4 separate regions of the Homo sapiens genome follow, and all the other regions are linked to region 2. Evidence: promoter capture Hi-C in 16 types of primary human blood cells and fetal thymus (Javierre and others, 2016). All regions are on one chromosome and are shown on one strand. Each heading gives the region's core, a stretch centred on a gene start or on the middle of the fragment in contact. The rest is flanking DNA. Distances are from core to core; before and after follow the strand shown. Region 1 overlaps ETFB (electron transfer flavoprotein subunit beta). Region 2 holds the start of LENG1 (leukocyte receptor cluster member 1). Region 3 holds the start of LINC01530 (long intergenic non-protein coding RNA 1530). Region 4 overlaps ZNF175 (zinc finger protein 175).

The links. Contacts are between HindIII fragments. The CHiCAGO score rates a contact against its expected background, and 5 or more counts as called.
Region 1: a fragment that was not itself captured here is called in contact with the fragment with the promoter of LENG1 in region 2 in 3 of 17 cell types (non-activated CD4 T cells, total CD4 T cells and activated CD4 T cells); the score reaches 9.5 in non-activated CD4 T cells.
Region 3: the fragment with the promoter of LINC01530 here is called in contact with the fragment with the promoter of LENG1 in region 2 in 2 of 17 cell types (total CD4 T cells and non-activated CD4 T cells); the score reaches 5.5 in total CD4 T cells.
Region 4: a fragment that was not itself captured here is called in contact with the fragment with the promoter of LENG1 in region 2 in 2 of 17 cell types (total CD4 T cells and activated CD4 T cells); the score reaches 8.5 in total CD4 T cells.

Annotation. Positions count from the first base shown.
Region 1 is chr19:51,358,103-51,360,802 of GRCh38, reverse strand. All of the region lies in intron 1 of ETFB (electron transfer flavoprotein subunit beta), which reads left to right. Among named protein-coding and RNA genes, the nearest start is that of ETFB, 6.9 kb to the left of the region's middle. The HindIII fragment of the contact is 200 bases long and covers 1,160-1,359 here.
Region 2 is chr19:54,158,296-54,160,995 of GRCh38, reverse strand. It overlaps LENG1 (leukocyte receptor cluster member 1), which reads left to right and starts at 1,275. Exons shown (of 4, transcript NM_024316.3): 1 at 1,275-1,432; 2 at 2,535-2,700. The coding sequence starts at 1,301. It overlaps TMC4 (transmembrane channel like 4), which reads left to right. Exons shown (of 15, transcript NM_144686.4): 13 at 1-118; 14 at 451-529; 15 at 622-888. The coding sequence ends at 690. RefSeq lists an enhancer at 1,273-1,942. The HindIII fragment of the contact is 1,716 bases long and covers 1-1,696 here.
Region 3 is chr19:51,593,113-51,595,812 of GRCh38, reverse strand. It overlaps LINC01530 (long intergenic non-protein coding RNA 1530), which reads left to right and starts at 1,433. Exons shown (of 2, transcript NR_034159.1): 1 at 1,433-1,864. RefSeq lists a silencer at 516-683 and enhancers at 766-815, 1,026-1,335, 1,082-1,717, 1,718-2,353, 2,354-2,700. The HindIII fragment of the contact is 8,842 bases long and covers 299-2,700 here.
Region 4 is chr19:51,572,403-51,575,102 of GRCh38, reverse strand. It overlaps ZNF175 (zinc finger protein 175), which reads right to left. Exons shown (of 5, transcript NM_007147.4): 2 at 1,702-1,953. The coding sequence starts at 1,773. Among named protein-coding and RNA genes, the nearest start is that of ZNF175, 2.5 kb to the right of the region's middle. The HindIII fragment of the contact is 1,968 bases long and covers 284-2,251 here.

The sequences.
Region 1 (2,700 bases), core at 10-2,509, 2.8 Mb after region 2:
AAAAGAAAGAGAAAGAGAGAGAGAGAGAGAGAGAGAAAGAGAGAAAGAAAAGAGAAGAGAAGAAAATCCCTCTTGCCTGCAGTGGACAACAAATAGGAAGACTGGCTCTCCTAACACCGTGGGCACACGTAGCCTCTTTCAGAGTCTCACAGTTCCCAAGACAGATTTGGGGTTAGACCCGTGGTCCTGCCACTTCCATGCTCAGTGGCCCTGGCCAAGGTACTTGGCCTCTCTGTGCCTCAGTTGCCTCATCTGTAAAATGAGAGGTAATGGCAGTAACCAACCTCACAGGCTACTAGGATGGTCAAACGAGTTAATGCATATAAAACCCTTGACTCGTTGTCTGCATGGGTCAGTGCTGCTTTTAAAAAAATTTTTTTTTTCTTTTCTTTTTTTTTTTTTGAGATAGAATCTGGTCTGTCACCCAGGCTGGAGTGCATTGATGTGATCCCTGCTCACTGCAACCTCCACCTCCCGGGTTCAAGTGATTCTCCTCCCTCAGCCTCCCAACTAGCTGGAATTACAGGCATGTGCTAAAACGCTCGACTAATTTTTGTATTTTTAGTAGAGATGGGGTTTTACCATGTTGGCCAGGCTGGTCTCGAACTCCTGACCACAAGTGATCCACCCACCTCAGCCCCACAAAGTGCTGGGATTACAGGTGTGAGCCGCCACGCCCAGCTTTGAGGCTGTTTTTGATATTGGTGGATATGTCGTCTCTTTAAGAGAAAGCCAGCACTTAATGCTGAATGATTTACCTCAATTATAAAACTTTTTTTTTTTCTTTTTGAGACAAGGTCTAGCTCTGTCACCCAGGCTAGAGTGGTACAGTCACAGCTCGCTGCAGCCTCGACCCTCCTGGGTTCAAGCCGTCCTCCCACCTCAGCCTCCTCAGTAGCTGGGACTACAGGTGCACGCCACCATGACCTGCTAATTTTGTTTTTTGGTAGAGATGAAGTCTCTCTATGTTGCCCAGGCTGGTCTTGAAATCCTGGGCTCCAGTGATCCTCCTTCCTCAGTCTCCTAAGGTGCTGGGATTACAGGCATGAGCCATCATTATTTAAAAAACAAACAAGCTATCATTTTTCAGCCCTACCATTGTTTCCTGACTTATGTAATATAACTAAACTGTTTTTGAAGCTTAAAATCAACTCAAGCTTAATTGAGAAGATGAGCTAGTTTGTTTCCTCAGGTGTGTGTGCGTGCGTGTGTGTGTGTGTGTCTGGAAAGTTCTTACCCTTTCTCCTCAGGAGTCAGGAGCCTGGGAATCAGGAGCTTAGGGCTGGGAGTTCTGCCAGAGCAAGAGCAAGATGTGGCTTGAGGCCCTTCAGAAGCCTCCCTGACTCACAGCAAGAAGCTTGGGGCCTCTTACTGATGGGTGGATGAGGTTCTTTTCTGTCTTAAAGGGGCAACTCCTATGTTGTGTTTTTTTTTTTAAGAAAAAAGGCCAGGCACTGCGACTCACACCTGTAATCCCATCACTTTGGTAGGCTGAAGCAGGCGGATCACTTTAGGCCAGGAGTTCCAGACCAGCCTGGGAAACACGGGGAAATCCTTTCTCTACAAAAAGTAAAAAAAAAAAAATTAGCCCGGCATGATGGTGCCCGCCTGTGGTCCCAGCTACTGGGGAGGCTGAAGTGGGAGGATCACCTGAGCCCGGGAGGTGGAGGTTGCAGTAAGGCAAGGTGGCACCTCTGCACTCCAGCCTGGGCAACGAGAGAGATGAAAATAACAGTTCTTTCTCTTTCCTCTCCTCTTCCAGCTCCTTCTCCTCTTTCTCCTTTTTCTTTTTCTTTTTCTTTTTTGAGATGAGGTCTTGCTCTGTCACCCAGGTTACATGTAGTGGCATGATCACGGCTCACTGCACCCTTGACCTCCTGGGCTCAGGTGATCCTCCCGCCTCAGCCTCCTGAGTAGCTGGGACTACAGGTGTGTGCCACCATACCTGGCTGTTTTTTTTTTTTTTTTTTTGTTGTTGTTTGTTTGTTTGTTTTGAGGCGGAGTCTTGCTCTGTCGCCCAGGCTGGAGTGCCGTGGCGCAATCTTGGCTCATTACAACCTCCACCTCCTGGGTTCAAGCAATTCTCCCTGCCCCAGCCTCTGAGTAGCTGCAATTACAGGCGTGCACTACCATGCCCGGCTAATTTTTTATTTTATTTTTATTTTTAGTAGAGATGGGGTTTTGCCATGTTGGCCAGGCTGGTCTTGAACTCTTGACCTCAGGTGATCCGCCCACCTTGGCCTCCCAAAGTGCTGGGATTACAGGCATGAGCCACCACGCCCAGCTGTTTTTGTTTTTGTTGTTGTTGTTTGTAGAACCTGTTGCCCAGGCTAGTATCCAACTCCTGGGCACAAGTGATCCTCCCACCTTGGCCTCCCAAATTTCTGGGATTACAGACAGGAGCCACTGCGCCCGGTCTCAGTCCTCCATCTTTTAATGTTACCCTCTCCATGAGGCACAGCCAGAGTGGGAAGCCCCTTATGGGTCCCACCTTCTCATCTCGGATTCTGTCCTGCCTGTGGGAGGAACAGTTACACCCACAGCCCCAGAGAAAAAGGGGCAGGGAAATAGCAAGAGCATCCCAGTGTCCTCACCAGGCTCAGCTGCCACCCGAGATCTGCTCTGGCCAAGCCCTGGGTGGCGGCCACATGGGAGAAGAGGAAGAGGGCAGGCTCCAGGCCAAATGGGGCAGCTCCCTAG
Region 2 (2,700 bases), core at 26-2,525:
AGTCGTCCATCTGGGCCCAGATCCCTGAGTCTATTTCCAGCCTCCCTGAGACCACCCAGAATTTCCTCTTCTTCCTGGGGACCCAGGCTTTTGCTGTGCCCCTTCTGCTGATCTCCAGGTGAGACGGCCCAGACTTCTGGGTCTGGGTTTGAATGCGTGTGATCTGGGGGCCACCACCTGCGTCCAAGAGAGGAGAGGCTTGGGCGTGGGAGCAGGCAACGTACTGAGTCTGAGGGAGGAGGCCTAGGCTCCTGGACTGCTGGGTCCGAAGGAGGAGGTGGGCGGGACGTAGGACTCCTGGATCTGAAGGCGGAGGGGCTGGGAGACTGAACTCCTTGAGCCCAGACGAGGAGGGGCTTAGGCGTCCACATCCCTGGCTTCGAAGGAGCCAGACGTTTGGATATAATGGAAGAGCGTGTCAGGAGTGGCTTCCGTTCCTGTCTCCTTCAGCATCCTGATGGCGTACACTGTGGCTCTGGCTAACTCCTACGGACGCCTCATCTCTGAGCTCAAACGTCAGAGAGAGACGGTGAGCCAGGCGGGTCCCTGAGAGGGCCCCTGGGGAACATGGAAAGGGGTTGGGGAAGAGGATTGTCTCACCTCCACCTCTCTTTGCCCCAGGAGGCGCAGAATAAAGTCTTCCTGGCACGGCGCGCTGTGGCGCTGACCTCCACCAAACCGGCTCTTTGACCCCCGCAGCCCACGTCCCGCTTTCAGACCCCAGGCCCATTGTAAGCCTAGGTCACAACATCTGTAAACTAGGAGAACTGGAGAAGACTCCACGCCCTTCCAGCTTTGGTATCTGGAGATTTCCAGGGCCCCTCGCCGCCACGTCCCTGACTCTCGGGTGATCTTCCTTGTATCAATAAATACAGCCGAGGTTGCTGAGCGCGCTTTGAAATCTGCGTCCTGAAGGTGGGGGCAGGGCTACAGCGGGGCAGGAGCCAATCAAATGTACGGGCATGTTTGTCGGTGCAGAGCGCTCTTCCGCAAGGAGACTTGTCGGTCATGTCGGCCAATCGACGGCCGCATCTGGTAGCATCAGGGGCGGGCCAACTTATGATTGGTTCAGATCTGTGACAAGAGGCGGTTGCTAGGGGATACCACGAGCCGAACGCCTAGCATTCGCTGTGATAAAGGGCGTCTCAGCCAATCACCTGTCGCTACAGGCCAGGGGGCCGTACCAACTAATTCGGAACCAATCCGCGGTCGAAGTAGGGACAAGAAAAAGGGGGGCATCCTCTCGCCAATCGGAAGTGCAAAGAGGCGGGCGTGCCAGTCCCTGGACAGCTACGACGCCATGAATATCTTGCCCAAGAAGAGCTGGCACGTCCGGAACAAGGACAATGTCGCCCGCGTGCGGCGTGACGAGGCCCAGGCCCGGGAGGAGGAGAAGGAGCGTGAGCGGAGGGTGCTGCTGGCTCAGCAAGAGGTAAGCTCGGAAGCCGGCAGGGCGGCGCTCCGGGGCCCAGCGCGCAGGCGCCGCGGTTGGGGGCCGGAAGCGGAGGCGTTGCGCAGGCTCAATGTGCCCCGTGTGAAATTCGGGACCAGGCGCCGATCCCACTTTCGAGGACGTTGCCCCGCAAACCTTGTGCCCACTTCCACGAAACCTTCCTTGATCTCGCCCTCGTCTTAGTTTTTCCCCCACTGATGTATTTCACATGGCTGGAACAGTGTCTAGCACAAAAGAGAAGCTTAACATTTAATGAATCCGTGAACCCTTGGACAGTTCAAGGAAATTCGGATCACTTTTTAGTTTGCCTGCACAGCCTATTTATTGAGCATCTACTGTATGCTAACTACATGCCGTGCACCTGACTTGCGGAATCCCCAATAAGCACTGTTCGTTCTTAGAGGGGCACTGTCATCTCTGTTGCACGAAGTGAGATGGCTTCAGTGAGGGGAAGGCACATTTTAAGGAGAGGCGGACAGCCAGGCTCCACGCCATCGGGCGAGCCCTTTCGTGCACCGCCCCCTAGACACATACACACAAACACGGGCTTTCCGTATGGCTCTTTAAATCTGTTTGGTGTACACCCAACTTTCATTTCCTTAGCTAGTCTGATCCTCCGCCGTGGGTGGGAGGTAGTCTAGGTTTTTAGAATCTCAGTAGGCTGCTGAGCGCTGTTTGAAATCCGCGTCCTGAAGGCAGGGGACAGGGCTTCAGCAGACTTGGGGTAGTCACTTGGAGCCATGGCTAGAATTCAGATCGTCTGGCCTAATGCATACCTTTATGGCTGTTTTAATTGTCTCACTTGAGGTTAGGAACCCCTTTGGTTTAGGCCAGGGACCTCCTCCCATACATCCTTGATGACCCGTGGTTTACTATTTGAAAGGGAGTTTACAAAACCCAGGCGTTGCCTCATCTGCCTACCCTCACCCCCAGCTAGGACAGGTGCCTCTTTTAGGCGCCTAGTGCTCCCTTTCTCATAACCCCAGCACCCTGGACTGCCATTTTCTGTGGTGGGCACCAGACTCACAGTTCTTGAATTACCTCTAGGTTCTGAATGTCCTGCCTATAACTTTCTCCCCAGGCCCGTACAGAATTCCTACGGAAGAAAGCCAGACATCAGAACTCACTGCCTGAGCTTGAAGCAGCAGAGGCGGGAGCCCCAGGTTCTGGCCCTGTGGACCTGTTTCGGGAGCTGCTGGAGGAAGGGAAAGGAGTGATCAGAGGCAATAAAGAGTACAAGGAAGAAA
Region 3 (2,700 bases), core at 184-2,683, 2.6 Mb after region 2:
ATGGAGGAACCAGGCCATGGATAAGGAAGTAAATGACTAAGATGCTTTCCAAATACGAGGGAATTATCTTTGGTGGTATGACTGGGGGGGGGGGAACAGGGAGGGGGTTCTTTAGGGTGGCTGGAGGCCTTTGAGCTGAGGCCAACAAAATGAGTAGACAGATATTGGGTCAGGGTGGGAAGAATGCTCCAAATTGAGTTAATAGCAAATGCAAAGGACATGAAGGGCAGGGCCTGGCTGTGTTCAGCCCATTGGAAAGTGTGTTGTGACTGAGGACGACCAGAAAGGACCAGAAGCTTAGAGGTTGGCAGGATAAGGAGCTTGGATTTTATTCTGAGATGGGAACCACTGGATGATTTTAAGCTGGGGGGCAGGGTAGTGACTGGTGACAGGATCTGATTTATATTTCCACAGGCTTCCTGGCACTGTGCCTGAATAGAGGGTGGAGTGTGGCAAGGGAAGAAACAGAACAGTGAGGAGGCCCCTGCAGTGATGCAGGTGAGGAGTAACGGTAGCTCGGAGCAGAATGGAGACAGTGGAAGTGGAGAGAAGTGGTTAGATTCTGGGCCTCTTCTGGAGATAGAGACGATGAGACTCACACAAGATTTGGTTGCGGGAGGGAAGCGGATGAGAGAAACAGAACACTGGCGACCATTCCAAGATTTTGGCTTGAGCACTTGGATGGACAGTTAGTGGGGAGGAGGCAGAAAGATTGTGAGAGGAGCAGGTTTAGGACAGGGAATCTGGGATTTCGTTTGGATGTGGTAGATTTGAGGTCCTTTGCTCTGTAAGGTCTTTCCTGAACCCTGGGCTGGGTCTAGCACCTCCTCTGTGTTCCCACAGCCTCCTGAGCACCCCCTGGGCCAGCCCTGACCACTCTGTGTTGTAACCAGGACAGAGGAGGGTGCACTCGCACTGCACCCAGGTTGAAGGGCGAGAGTGAGAAGGTGTCAGGCTGGGCCGCAGAATCCAAAGCGGGTCAGCAGGTACAACAGCTGCTTAGAGCACTCCCACCCGGAGAGAGGGATTGAGAGATCACGGAAAAGGGTGCCATCTTTCCAGGGACGCCTACCAGAACGCGGGGGAGAGAAATACAGAGACCCTCAACTCCGCCACGTCATCGCGACAAAGGGCCAGGACCGGCCGGCCGCGGGATGGGCGCTCACCTGGGCAGAACTGGAGCTGGAAGGGCCAACCTCCAAAGAAACGAGGAGCGGGCGGAAGGACTACGACTCCCGGAAGGCTTTGGGCCCATCCGCCTACGACTCCCAGGTGCCCCTGCGTTGCGTCGTCCCGAAACACTTGCGGCTCTCGGACAAACTGGGCCTACAGTTCCCAGAGATCCTCGCGGCAGCGCTGCGCATTCTGCGCACGCCTCCCAGAGTGTACTAGGCCGGTCCGGCCCGCTTCCCGTCTGCGCCTGCGCAAGCACAATAGCCGTGCCAGAATTCTCTGCCAGCTGCTGTGCACTGCTGTCAGTGCAAAGATGGGATGGACTTTTTTTTCAGATTTTCTGCTGTTGTGGGAGTATGGCAAGAGTTTGAGGGGGCGGAGAAAGAGATTGGGAATGTGAAAAGGGAAGATAGCACCTGCGCTAAGCACATTCCTAGGATTGGGCCGCGTCTCGGGGATGCAGAGTGGGCTCTTCGGCGCGCCCTGCAGCCATGGGAGTGGACGCCTGCCCAGGCCGAAGGGCAAGGACTTGCGGGGTGGGGTCTCTGTGCATGCGCGGAGCTGAAAGGGAGCGTTTTGCAGATCTCCACGCGTGCGCAACTCTCGGGACGTGGACGCGGTGAACAGTTACGCACAATCGTCTTTCTGACACAAACACACCCTGCCAGGTGGAAGCCAGGATGGAGGGCAGGTGAGACCCGTAAGGCAAGATCCCAAAACCAAGGAACGGAGCACTCTCCCCGCTTGCTCCCCAGATCCAAGCCCTCCACTTCCTTCCAATGCCCCCCTTCCCGAAACTGCTCCCTCCTGTATATTCTGAGATCTTATCACTATTCCCGTGAGGCCCTTGATAAGGAGGATTGAGAGTGAAGGGTGATGGGAGACACGCCTTGGGCGTCTTCTGTCCACCTCAAGGATTGAACTTTGGTAACTGGAACTCATTCATTTGTTAATCTGTGTGCTAGGCCCTTTGACCCGCTGGCCAGATGCACCGGGACACAGGTGTATTCAGCCTGGTCCAGAGATAAGGATGATAAATCTTAATGTAAAGGTATCAGATGTTAAGGGCTGCAGGAGCCCAGAGGTTACAAGTGCTGCAAGCCAGAACATGGGGAAACAACAGCAATTAAGCCGTTAGCTTGTGCCTTGGAGGGGTGTTTGCCCTGCACCCCACTCACTACCTGAAGATAAATGGCTTCTCCAACGTGTAGTGGGGTTGGGATGATGAGGATGACATCACTGCCAGGTGGGAGGCAGGAGCTGCAGGTCCTGACATGATGAGGCAGGTATGGGCCGCCCTGGGCTGAGGGGGACATGGGCTACCCTGGACTGGAGGGCTGGGCTGTGGCATGGGGACCCTGTCAGAGACAGGTGTTTGGCCTCCATGCCTTCCTGTGTCTCTGGAAGGGTGAAACTAAGCGGGATGCTCCTCTCCCAGCCCCACCTGCTTTTCAGAGGCTACCATATGCTGGAGGGGGAAGATCCTGGCCACAAGCAGAGGCCCTGGAGGTGAATCAGTGTTGGAAG
Region 4 (2,700 bases), core at 18-2,517, 2.6 Mb after region 2:
GCCTGTTTGTAAACAAAGTAATGCAAATTAAAACACTATACTATCTTTATTTCCATCACATTAGAAAAGATAAAAATAACAAAATAAAAATAGTACTGTCCAGAGCAGAGGGAAATACACACCACAAAGAGAAGATAATGTGCATGGTACTGGGATATACTCTGACATGAATTCAGACACTGATGGAAAATCTGAATTAGCGACAGCAGTATTGATTCAAATGATAAACTGGAAATCAGGTCAAGCAGAAAAAAAATTTCATTGTTAAAAAAGGAAAAAAGCTTATATTGAACATGTGTCCTAAAACGCTAAACTTGAAGATGTTCTGAACACGCAAGTTGACCAACATCAATGCAAATGAGAGAAACGTTTGTGCATCTGCACTGCTGTCACAAAGACTTAGACAATTTCATGTTTTAAACTTGTTTTGTTTTGAGACAGGGTCTCACTCTATTGCCCAGGCTGGAGTGTAGTGTCATGATTGCAGCTCACTGCAACCTTGACCGCCTCAAGCTCAGGTGATCCTCCCACGTCAACGTACTCAGTAGCTGGGACTACAGGTGCATGCCACCACACCTGGCTAATTTTTGTATTTTTGTAGAGTCTCGCCATGTTGCCCAGGCTGGTCTCCAACTCCTGGGCTCAAGTGATCCGCCCGCCTCGGCCTCCCAAAGTGCATGAGCCACTGTGCCCCACCTAAACTTGTATGTTTCAATTTTTCTTTTAAGAACGACTTTTAAATATTTGGGGTATTTACAATTTTGAAAATGATTTATATGTGCAATTTATTTTGTGTTAATGTTCCCTTCTTTTAATACTTTCTATTATCAAATGTTTCTAGCAGGTTGAGATGATTTTAACAGGTTACTGAAATATATAATCTCACAATATATTGGTTCAGGATAATAACACACATATTTATTATACTTTTTTTAAAAAACAGAACATCTCTGTAAATTTGGTTATAAACCCATCACAGAACAATGGTACACTGTTTACTATTATAGTCACATACTATTTAAAGACTTGTAAATAAAGCATCAAGAGATACACAGAATAATTTAGGATTTCAGGAAATCTTGACTATACCAAGAATTCTGATTTCTTGTTACCAAATCCTGACTATTTCTATCTGTGGGCAATCTGGAAACACTGTTTTCCAGCATTTTTTGTTCACCTTTTTAAACAGGAAAAAGTGTTTAAAAGCCTCTTCACATGGTCCTTAAAAGCCTCTTCTCACTCTACCTCCCTGTGACTATTTAAATTACAAAGGAAGGAGATTTTGCCGCACCTTATGAGAACAGAGGAAAAACGGGCCAAACCCCATGGACCAAGCAAGGAATTTGGTGGGGGGGACCACTTGAAATTTTTCAAAGACCCAGTGGTGGATGAAGGAGCAGAACCAGTGCTTAGCAGGAAAGAGTCAGCTTTTCCATCCTATGACTGGGGCTTCTGATCAGACCAGGGACTACAGTTTCTTCTTTCTTGACCCAAGGCCAACCCTCTACTATCCTCTTTTATCAGCCAGTTCATGGTTTCCTCTAGAACACAGATAGCCTATGAATGTGGAAACATCAGCCTCTGTGGTCCTCGCTTGACAGGAGGCTCAAGACTGACTCAGGAGCAGGGAGCCCAGACCTGCTGCATCCTGTGTCTGCCCTCACGTTCTGGAGAACTATCCCCAGGGCTGCCCCTGTTTACCTCGCAAGATCCATCCTGCTTCTCTGGACCCAGGACCTGAGGCTTCTGGGATAAATTCACATCAGCAGGCATCTCCACTCTGGGCTTCTACTCTCGGTCTCTCTTGCTGACAACTCCACTTTTCCCAGGAGCCAGAAGCTGGATAGGTGTTTGGATTTTCCAACCAGGGACACGGCGGAGAGTCGTACTGGGCTATGAAGAGAGATCCTGCAGCCTCAATGATGTGGCCTGACCTGGGGGTTCTGCAGAAGCCTTGGAAAAGCAATGAGTACATGGTCACTCATTCAACATTCACTCCACAAATATTTCCTGAGGGCACTGAGGTGAAGTCACTGTGTCAGACATTGGAGTAGACAAAGTTCAGAAAGCCCAACTCTAGTTATTAGTCAGGGTTAAAAATAAAGACTGAGTCTGGACTAAATGGTGAATTCATTGCAGCTTTGCCACATTTTCACTGTGAGAATATGAAAATATTACTTTAGTTGTAGTTTCCAAAATGAAAATGCAGGTATTTATCACAGATGTTGGGAAACTTAACCAAGATGAAGCTTGTCAAGTCCTCAGTGCCTGCCTGGCACGTGATAAATATGAATTAAAAAAAGAAAGTTGTCAATTTAATTGTCAGCTAAATATCATGGGCATTATCATACCCATTTTGAGGATGAGGATAATGAGGCTGTGTGCTGTTACATAATTTGCCTGAAGGTTACTCAGTCTGTAAATGGAAAAACAGGGAATCAGCCCCACATCTGCCTTGTTCTAAACTGTACACTGTCTCCACTATCTCATGTACCCATACGTGGCCAGCTTCCAGAAACACCATTTCCTCTTTCTGTTGCCTTCATAGAACTCAGGCCGGGAGGTGGCTCTGTCTGGTGTACCTATTCTGAGCTTCTGGACTTTTCAGTCCCCGTCCATAATACACCACACACAGACCAGCCTCTTCTGACTAGAGCTAAAACTTAAAATCACTGTCCCAATCCCCATCTTGACACAGAA